Regions from separate parts of the Homo sapiens genome. Here regions 2 and 3 are each linked to region 1. The links are contacts of gene promoters, found by promoter capture Hi-C in human tissues and cell types (Jung and others, 2019). All regions are on one chromosome and are shown on one strand. The core of a region is centred on a gene start or on the middle of the fragment in contact, and the rest is flanking DNA. Distances in the headings are between cores, read along the strand shown.

The links. The method cuts DNA at HindIII sites, captures the fragments that hold promoters and counts their contacts. A contact is called where the count stands out against the background at its distance.
Region 2: a contact is called between a fragment that was not itself captured here and the fragment with the promoter of DBNDD2 in region 1, in 1 of the 25 tissues and cell types used here (spleen).
Region 3: a contact is called between a fragment that was not itself captured here and the fragment with the promoter of DBNDD2 in region 1, in 1 of the 25 tissues and cell types used here (aorta).

The regions. Positions count from the first base shown.
Region 1 is chr20:45,406,516-45,409,869 of GRCh38, forward strand. It overlaps DBNDD2 (dysbindin domain containing 2), which reads left to right and starts at 1,774. Exons shown (of 3, transcript NM_001048225.4): 1 at 1,774-2,091; 2 at 2,286-2,423. The coding sequence starts at 1,953. It overlaps SYS1-DBNDD2 (SYS1-DBNDD2 readthrough (NMD candidate)), which reads left to right. Exons shown (of 6, transcript NR_003189.2): 4 at 1,945-2,091; 5 at 2,286-2,423. It overlaps LOC107985404 (a long non-coding RNA gene), which reads right to left and starts at 1,374. Exons shown (of 5, transcript XR_007067608.1): 1 at 1,234-1,374. RefSeq lists an enhancer at 362-911. The HindIII fragment of the contact is 23,713 bases long and covers 1-3,354 here.
Region 2 is chr20:46,392,248-46,395,601 of GRCh38, forward strand. ELMO2 (engulfment and cell motility 2) reads right to left here. Exons shown (of 22, transcript NM_133171.5): 3 at 2,158-2,285; 4 at 1,802-1,842; 5 at 1,282-1,354; 6 at 846-896. The coding sequence starts at 2,235. It overlaps LOC124904917 (a long non-coding RNA gene), which reads left to right. Exons shown (of 3, transcript XR_007067614.1): 3 at 994-3,354. Among named protein-coding and RNA genes, the nearest start is that of ELMO2, 13 kb to the right of the region's middle. RefSeq lists an enhancer at 1,987-2,486. The HindIII fragment of the contact is 3,871 bases long and covers 1-3,354 here.
Region 3 is chr20:46,355,154-46,358,507 of GRCh38, forward strand. It overlaps SLC35H1 (solute carrier family 35 member H1), which reads right to left. Exons shown (of 10, transcript NM_015945.12): 2 at 3,234-3,354; 3 at 2,470-2,620; 4 at 1,421-1,484; 5 at 649-721; 6 at 1-88. The coding sequence starts at 3,353. Among named protein-coding and RNA genes, the nearest start is that of SLC35H1, 7.6 kb to the right of the region's middle. RefSeq lists an enhancer at 1,397-1,896. The HindIII fragment of the contact is 7,023 bases long and covers 1-3,354 here.

The sequences.
Region 1 (3,354 bases), core at 524-3,023:
CCGACCGCCGGGCGAGCTGCGAGCGAGTGAGCCCGCCACCGCCCCTCCCCCACTTCCGCCTCCCGCCTCTTCCTCGTTCCCGGCTCCCAGGGCCCGTCGGTCCCCCGGGAGCCCTGGAGGCGCAGCCCCACCCCGGCCGGCGCGGCTCGCTCCCACGCCCCCGCCGCGGCCTCGCTGGAGCGGACGGACTGAGTCAGAGGGGGCGCCAGCGCTGCAGGTAGGGGCTCCGGCGGCGGTGGGCGCAGGTGCCGCGGTGGACCGCGGAGGGGACCGGAGCACGAGGGGAACGGCCTTGGGGGAGCGCCCTCCCCCCGTCCTCCGCCGACGCCTCGTGTCCCTTTTTAGGGAATTTTTTCCCTCTTGCTGGCTCCAGTGCGGGTGGGGCTGAGACCGAGAGGGAGTTCTCCATTTCGCTGGCTCCTGCCCGGCCCCTGGCAGCCTCCTGCCCCCAAATCTCTTCACCCCCTTTCCAGTACCTATAGGTCGCGTAAACAACTCCCTTTCTCCAGCTCTGGGCTCCGCGGCCCCCCGGGGGACAGCTCCTTCAGTCTCGTGAGATCGGTGGGGTTAGGGGGAGGGGAAAAGAGAGGGGGTGTCCCAGAGCCCCTGGCCCCCGTCAGCTCCCCCACCTTGGCCTCTCCCTCCCCCTCCTCGCTGCTGGAGCACAGGCTCCAGGGGCCCTGGGTATTTTTAGCGTTGTGACCTGGGCGGCAGCTCTAAGAGCCTTTCCCGGGAATCGGCGTCAGCGCCTCGCTCCTCCGCCGCCAGCCCGCGGCCGCACGGTCTCCCCAGACTTCCGTGGCCCTGCCTTGGCCAGTCGGGGTTGGGTCCCTCTCCACCTCTGTGGCGCCCGTGGAGCTGGCCAGGGTCTGGGATACGCTGGGTGCAGATGAGGTGGGGAAGGCAGTCTGCGGAGGATGACGTCTGATCCTCAAGCTAGAAACTCCCTTGCCTCTGGTGATGGGCTCAGAGCAGAACGCCGGGAAGGAGATGAGCGAATGGGAATGAATGCACCGACCTGGGCTGGCCCATAGCCTCAGTGCTCTGGCAGGGTCTCAGCTTCTCAGCCCTAGGGGTCAGGAGGCCTGCTCTGAACTGGACCCAGAACCCGCCTTTCCAATTGCTCCTCACTGACTAATGGGGAGATAAGTCAGTGAGATGTGTCCCAGGAGGGGGACGCATAAAGAGCTGTTGGAGTTCAAAGGAAAGATGGTAGTCTCCTAAATAGCTCACCTTCACAAGCAGGGTCTTGTATTTGAGGCAGGTAGGTTGGTTATGCCATTTTCAGATGGGGAGACTAAGACCAGAAAGGTGATTTCCTTAGGGGCAGAGCCTAGTCTGGAAGTCAGGCCTGTGACTTCAGAGCAAGGGTTTGGGGTAGATGGCACATGCGTGTGTACGTGTTTGTGTGGGTGGAGAGAAAAGGAGGGGCGCGGGAGGAGTTGCTTTAGCCTTTGTCTGGGTTTTGAAGGATGGGAAGGGGTGGGCTGCAGCACTGGAGGAAGGGAACCCTCCACCCTGAGATCTCTGTCTCTATCCTATCCTGTCCCTGGCCTTCTGAGGCAAGCGGGGCCAATTAAGGGGAAAACGTACCTCCTCCATTTGTGCTGAACCAATCCCTCCAACCCCTCTCAGGAGGGCATGATATGGAGAGTTGGGCATTGGCTGTGTTCCCTGAATACAGAGTATCTCTCTTGTGGTGCCTGGAACTGGCATCCCCTTTGTGGAGCTTAGGGCAAGCCCCGCCTCTGCATGAGACTTGGTTTGTGGGACACACTTGGTTTCAGGGAAGGGGAAAGAGGTCACCAAGGGCAGAGGTGTCCAGGCCGGAGCCAGGGGCCCCACTGTTGGGATGCTGGCTGCAGTGGGGCGCCCCAAGCCCAGGTCCCCTCTGTCTTCTCTTTCGACTTTGCAGCTGTACTTGTTTTGCTCCTCTACCCGCAGGAGCTGACATGGACCCAAATCCTCGGGCCGCCCTGGAGCGCCAGCAGCTCCGCCTTCGGGAGCGGCAAAAATTCTTCGAGGACATTTTACAGCCAGAGACAGAGTTTGTCTTTCCTCTGTCCCATCTGCATCTCGAGTCGCAGAGACGTAAGTCCCAAGTCCTGAGAAGAGGGACTGGGGTAGGGTAGGGAGGATGTCCTGTGGGTCCTGAATCTTGTGGCACTCTCTCCCCTCTGGTTTTCTTGGCCCTCTATGCTTCTAACTTGGGACCTGACATGTAACTCTCACTGTCCTGGTGTGCAGCTTGGGTCCTCCTGACTTGCCCACTTCTTGATCCGCAGCCCCCATAGGTAGTATCTCATCCATGGAAGTGAATGTGGACACACTGGAGCAAGTAGAACTTATTGACCTTGGGGACCCGGATGCAGCAGATGTGTTCTTGCCTTGCGAAGATCCTCCACCAACCCCCCAGTCGTCTGGTATGCCCCTCTGCTTTGGGGACTTCAGTGCCAGTCAGCCAGAGCCGGATGTCAGGCTCTGAAACGAGGCTACAAGGCTGGGCTGGGGAAGTACACAAGTAAGGGCTGGAAGTGGGTGTTTCTACCAATGAAACAGCTGCCTGTTCTGATTTTAGGGAAGTTGACCCTGAGGGAGAACTGGGTTACACATCTCTAATCCAAAATTCTGGGAACGGTCAATCTCTTCTTTAATTTTACATTTGTTATATTAATATAATTAGTCACTATAATTAAAATAATGTAAAATTGTAATTTTTATATTTGGCAACTTAAGTAGTTTTAGTCATTATAATGATATTAATATGTATTGAGTACTTTAGTAGGTTCCAATACTGTACTAAAGTACTTTACATATATTATCTCAATCCTTACAACGTCCTGTCAGGGTAGGTGATATAATCTCTATTTTATAAGCAGGAAATTAGGCTCAGAGAAGTTAAGTCACATTGTAGCCAGAAGGTAGATAAACTGGAATTCATGTCTGTCTGACTCCAAAGCCCATATGCTTAACTTGTAAGATAGATATTCTTTTAATTAAAACTGCTACTATTTATTGATGGCTTACTATGCCAGACATTTTATAAGCATTCTTAGGTTTTATTCCCAAAACCCTTTGGGGATGTAGGTATCCCTTTTATTTTGCAGAGGAGGAACAGAGTCCTTGAAAGGGAAAGTGACTTGCTCAAAGCCACTCAGCAGCAATAAGTGATGTAGGTGGAACTTGAACTCTTGCCATTCATTGACCTGACTGTAGATCCCAGACATGGTGTAATGACGTGGAAGGAGCTGGCAGTCAGGAGATGGTGATCTTAATCCTGGCTCTTTGCTGGATTGGCAAAGTCACTTTGGACAAGTCTCTGCCCCACTGTGGACTTTAGTTACTCCTGGCCAG
Region 2 (3,354 bases), core at 590-3,089, 990 kb after region 1:
TTAGTGACCTTTAAGGGCTGCTCTTGCACAAATCAGGGTCATCCTCCATTCTCCCCTTTCCTTCCACATCTAGCATATCACCATACTCATAAAGCTTACCTCCTAGATACTCTTCATATCCATCCTTTCATCTCCATTACCACTTGCCTTCACTGGGCTGTTAACATTCCTTATTAGCCTCTTCAAAGGTTCCTACTACCACCAACCTTCTTCTTAAGGCCCATCTTCCACATGGTCACTAAAGTGATCTTTCTAAAACTTAAAATCTAAACATAACATATCTTCCTGCTTAAAATTCTTCAATGTCCCCAGTTTCCTTCTGGACAGAGTTGAAACCTACGAGTAGGCCATCAAGGAACCTTGAATATCTGGCTTCTCAATGACTGCTACAAGCCTCCAGCCACCCAGCACTCCTGCTTTTCCCAAACACAGCATACCTCTGTGCCTTGGCATATGCTGATTTCTCTGACTGGAATACTTTTCCTTTTCTTATTTCTCTAGCTAATTCTTGCTCATCCTTTAACATCTGAGCTAAGTGACGCCTTCTCTGGCAAGACTTTCTGGAAATCTCCAGGCTGAGTTAGGTGGTCCCCTTTGTGAGTTCCCACAGCTCCCTAAGCAACTTTCTCTCAAGACCCTTGAGACAGGCCTTCTATTGCATTTGTTTACTCCCCACTAGGTGGTGAGAACCAAGACAGACTTATTTTCCTGTACTATTTCCTGATACAAAAAGACTGACTTTCTTATCTCCAGAGTACTTATTTCTAGAACAGAGTCTGGCCCATGGTAGGTGCTCATATTTGTTTGTGACATGAATAAACTCCTAAGGAAGAAAGAATACCTACCGGGGAGATAGCCAGTTGTAAGATTGTCCCATTCTTAATGTCACTGCGAGTCTGGGTAGTGAAAAATAAACAAAAAAAGTAACTAAGATAAAATGTTAAAGTGGTACAAGCAAGTTGAATCAACAATAATGTTTTGTCTTTTTTACAGTAGATGTAACTGAGGATCTTCAGTCGGGCCCTCTTCTCCTGCTTATTCCTTGGCAAAGAATTTCTAAGATCCTCCTCTAGCACCCTGGGCACTCAGGAAGTAAAAGCCACCTTTTTCTAGCCACTAGGGAAGAACAAGGGCTGGTGTTTCCCAGTCTGTCCGGAGAGTGACTCTTTACCCAACACATGGAAGCTACCTGGATGCTGAGTGAAGATAAATAGTGCCGTCTCCTTGGGTCGTTTAATTCCAAGCAAGGCCCATATTGATTTTGCCTCTCCCTGTACTAACCTGTTCGGTGATGTACAGCTGAGGACCATCTGCATAACGGAGGGTATAATACTCTGGGTTTGGCAACGACCACCTATGCAAGAGAAAAACAGTATATCCCACTTGGCCACTCTCTTGTTCAGAAGCTGCTCATAAGTAATTTTCAAAAGAGTTGCTCAAGGGATTGGGTGGCCTATTTGGAATACAGTGGAAACAAAGCTTTAGGTTGTCATGTTGAAAAAATCATGGCCTCAGCCTTTTGTAAAGATGAGCACCACAATAGGAGGTGTGCAGAACTGAGGAGGGGTCTCAGATCCTACCTCAATAGGGCAATGCTAGACTTTAAGGAAAAAATTAAGAAGTATAAACGTCTTAGGGGTATGGTTGTCAACTGTACTTCCTTCCCAAGACAATGATTCCCAAGACCCCCATGCTGAGGACCTGCCTAACTGGAGATCCTTCCCAGAACTCCCCTCAAGGTGTAGGAGTGCTCTTTCAGTCGGAGCTGCCACTGTTGAAAACGAGGTCCATTTCAACCTACCCATCACAAACTTCCTTGATAATGGATGCCAGGGGCCGTTTCTGAAAGAGAGAGAGAGAAAGCCTTCAACAGCAGCAACATCCTACTCATGCCAAGGTTCTGACAAGAGGCCTGCCAAGCAGGGTCAAGCTGGGGCATGAGAATGAACTTCTTTCCTAACAGCTTTTGTTGAAGAGGAAGCCTCTCCCAAGCCATGGTGACCGACCTTCCCTAGGGTGGGCCAGGCCCAAAGCTTAGCCTTCCTGTTGCTCGTTCTTACTCTTGATGCCGGTGGTCCCCATCCCTCAAGATGTCCTCTGCCATGCACTCCCCAGGTGCCTTTCCTTGAACCACTGCTTCTCACTTCAGGAGCATACCTGGTCGATTTCAAGGAGCTGGGCGTTAGCACCTGGCCACTCAATGGCCACTTTGACAATGTCTGACGGTGGTGGCATCGTTCCCAATGGGCTCTAATTCTGCGAGACAAAAACACAGACACGGCTGCCTGGGGAGAAAGAATCAGAAAGGTGGAAAAAGAGTATTTCTTCATTTTTCACTCTTGTTACATGTTTTGAAGAGTTTGAAGACAGACACTGCATAAAGTAACACATGAAACTACCTGGTTTGAATTTTTCTAGATCATACCACAACTTCTGCTTAGGATTTTGTCTCTTGAGATTAAATCAGCAAGAAGAAATGGGACAAACTATCTATCATCCATAGATCAGCCAGTAGCAAGATATGCCAATGTGGCACTTCAGTTTAAGAGTCAAGAAGACTCAGTGGTAGAGGAATGTATTTACTGCAAATTCCTGTCTTGAGACCTTGGGAGGAGAGAAGCATATGCTCCGAGACAGATAAGAATAGACAGCCTTTTCTTGGTTGAGTGGTTAGCTGGAGGAGCCAGGCTACTTCTTTCTGCAGTCATCCTAGGAAGATCCCAGCATCAGCAGGGCCCAGCTACATGCTCTCTTGCTTCCTCCCCACTCATCGATGCCACCCCTTTCCCCTCAAAGGACACAATGCAAAGCCTCCTCTGTGTGGGACGACATCAGAAAATGGGGAAGATAACTGGGACAGGAAATGCTATTTTCGTCCCTACTGCCAAGGGCAAGGGCGGCTGACAACTCAAGTGGAGAGAGGTAAGGATATCCTCACACAAGGGCCCCTCTTATAAGGACAAGGCTTTGCAAGTACCTCTGACCCCCTCCCCCACTTCTCTCCAAAATAAAGGAAAATAAATCATCCTGAGCAAGTCTGGAAGATGGGCCCATGTGACTGGTATCCTAGGCAACTCTGATAGCTTACTGGTATTCCAAGCAGTAACTAAAGCATTCTCTCTCCAAGGTCTGACGAAGGGAAGTCACTTGGCTGATGGATTATTTCAATGTATATTTACACTCCTTGCCTACAAGTTCAGGAGAGGCCCCTCTCTTAATGAAAAAGACCTTTCTGCATCCTCCAGGTTTAGCCATTCACCCACAATTCATGCCTCGCTAATGGGGACCACCTGCCTCTCCTGGCGTACAAAGCATAGCTGTCGCGAGGCTATTATGCATGTATGCTATCAATTT
Region 3 (3,354 bases), core at 855-3,354, 950 kb after region 1:
AGCCCTCCACGTTGAACTGTGTGGACTTGTAGGTGAACATGAAGAGACCCCCGGCGATGAGGAGGACCACCAGGACCAGTGCCGCGCGCTGGTAGGATGGGGAGCAGTGGCAGCTAACTCGGGGGTCTTGAGGGTCAAGGGTTCATCACATTTGGAGCCTGGGGTCAGCAGCCATCTTGGCTGCCCCTGGGGCAAGAAATCCTTCCACCCTTCAGCTCCATCCCAGGGGGTCCTGGACAGTCCTTGCCCACCAATGTCAGCATGTAGGGCTGACGGTCAGCTGGTATGCCAACAGCCCTGCTTGCTCTGCCACACTGACGGCTGTCCTAGGCCCCCAAGTGGTCCCACCTCCTCCCTGGGCCTAACACACAGGGCTACTGCCTCCCACAGCAGGGTGCTTCCTAGACCCAGCTCTGCTGGGACCCTCATCCTGCAGTGCTTTCACCTTTGGTCATTACCCTGCCACACTGGTTTCTAAATATTCTGAGTATTGCCCATGTCTAGGTCCCTTCTCAGAAAGGGATCTACTGCCACCTGGACTGGGCTTGTCTCCTCTGTCACACAGCAGGACAAGCCACTGCTCAGACTCCCACTTTATTCTTAGCATCTGTGGGGGCAGGAAGGACACAAGAGACGCTGGGGCCTCACCAGCTCCTCCAGCTTGAAGATCAGAGAGAAGATCAAGATGAAGAGGACAGCTGAGGATTTGGTCATTGTGTACCTGGAAGCAAAATTACCCACAATGCACTGCTGGAGCTCAGGGCTCAGACCCATCACCGAGAAAGGAGCAGGAGCACAAATCACTGAGCGAAATGACCAAACAGAGCTGGGCTGTCATCTGAGTGATAAGCGACCTTTAATCAGAAGGAATCTCTGACTAAGAGGCCTCTGGTTATCACCAGAGAGAAGAGGTTACAGGTCTGACGTTGAGCTCCCTGAGTCCTGTTCTTTACCTAACCCTCGGCAGAGCCCAGGAGCGGGAAGGAAGGATGAGAAGTAGGAGGACAAGAAGGCAGGAACAGTGCTCTCTGAAGCAAAACATCAGAGGGAAGAAGAAACTCTTGTGTAGCCCCCAGGCCACATAGGGCTCTGCTGCGGCTGCGTGTACCACCCACCAGTGGCCACCTGTCTGTGGCCTTGCAGCCTGCCTTCCCCTGCTCTGATGATGGGGTTCTGGGAGAGCTCCCTGGCTTCCCCACGCTGCCTGGCAGGTGGGCACAGCATCTCCTCTGCGCTGGGCTTACGGAAGAGGCTGGCGACTTCCCGGAGAGCTGCTGGGTGCCAGGGAGAGGCTGAGAGAGCAAGGGCTGGTCCCAGAGTGGTGGAGTGGCTGGCCTAGCAGCCGGGTGTGCAGACACCCCGCTGGACAGACAGACAGCTTCAGCCTGAAGGGAGGCAGCAGGGCATGGCCAGTACTCACAGCGAGACGGTGACATACAGGAAGCTCCAGTTGGACAAGCCCACGTCAAGCGCCGTCGCCAGAGCTGTGAAGACACAGGCACCCACAGGACAGCTTGGGAGGTCCACACTCTGCTGGGGTGGGCTGGTACCCTGAGGCACCTGAGTGTCCCCCACTTCTGAACCATCCCGGTGCCTCCTGTGGGGCCCTTGGGCCTTCTTTTCCACCAGCAACTAAAGGGTTAATATCTGGCCCCCAAAGGTCGGGGGCTGCTCTAGCATTAGGGCTGGGGCCCATTCCAACTGGCTGGGCCGGTATGGTTTCCACAAACACTCCGGCGAGCCCCCTGAGCGGAGGTATTAACCTGATCTGGTTGATCCCTTACTGGAAACCCTTTTCCCTCAGGATGGAACACAAACTCCTCCACGGGGAATCCGGCCTCCAGGACATGACCCCTGCCCACCCTCTCAGTTCTCATTTTTCCCACTTCCTCTGGCCAGCACCGGGTTCTCAGTATCCTGAAACACTTTGAGTTCCCTTCCAGACCCCACAGCTGGCACTAAATCTCCCTCGGGCCACGAGGGCCCCTCCTCCCAGGGCCAACCAGTCCCACGCATCCTTCAGGGCTCTGCCTACTTGGCACCTGGCCTAGGAAATCTTCCTCTACCAGCCATGGGCCCCGGCCTTGGGTTGGTCCCCTCCCTGGGCTCCGTAGTGCCCTCCATGTCCGTGTCACAGCCCTGCGAGGGCAGGGACCCTGCCTGCTCACCACTTATCTCCAGGCCTGAGGGCTGCACTCCAGGCTCGGTGTCTGCTGGCAGGAGAGGGAGCTGCGGGGCCGCAGGTGCAGGGGGGGTTTTGTGGGTGTGTGGTGGGGCAGTGGGAAGGCACGCAGTGCACAAGAGGCAGCAGCGTGGGTGGTGGGAGGCCAGGTCAAGAGGGCAGAGGAGGAACAGTGCAGGAAGAGGGGAGGGACTTGGCTTCCAGACATGCGGGTGTCTCTCTTGTTCTCATCCTATGGTTCCCCAGCCCCTCTTCCTGCTCTGCCCTCACTGAGGTCCCCCACCTACCTGTGGGAGCCACTCTTCTGAGGTAGTCGGCCCAGCTCAGCACCACACGGGCCCTGTGGCTGGAGCACTGAACCAGCGCCCTGGACAGGGCGGAGAAGAGGAAGATCACGGCCAGGTGCAGCATCGTCATGAAGAGGGGGAAATGGAAGCTCTGTATGGAGCCCAAAGCAGACACCCCGGCTTGGTTTAGACAGCCTGCCCCCCACCGGCTCCCTCTTCCTCTTCGCCCCTCTGCTGGAGTGGGGCTCATTCGGTGGTTCATGAGGACCTTGCTATGTGTGTAGGGCCCTTAGTTACGGTATCATCGCTTGGAATGACAGACTCTTAGGTCACGAAGACAGGTGGCAGCCAAGAGACTCAATCCTAGCCTGGTGCTGTCTCCACCATTTCAACACACCTGTGAGCTACCTGCCCAGCCTTCCTCACGGCCTATGCCCAAGTGAGAGCCACTGCGGCCCACTACGTTGTATCACTTATTAAAATATTGAAATACTTCTCTAGTGGGGTAAATAGCTGCTGCTTGAGCCCCAGTTTCCCCAGCTCATCCCTTCACACCCCCCGCTCTCCTTGGTTTCCCTGGATCCAAACACTGAAGGGGAACCCTGGCACGGCAGGCTTGGAGGGCCCTGTTCCAGCCCAGCCGTGACTGGCTTCCAGTTAGACTGGTTGAAGCTTGTGCCTTCCTGTTAAACATGAAGGGCACCGTAGCCATGGCTCTGGCCACCTTCATCCCAGCACCCCGCCCCAGCAAGGCCTCCTGGTACCTTTGTCAGCCACTTGTTGTAGAAGGTGATGCCGATGGAGAAGCAGTAGTAGAGAAGCACCAGCCCCAGGGTCAACACCGCCTTCCACAAAAAGGCCACATCGAGGGCCCACCTCCCCATT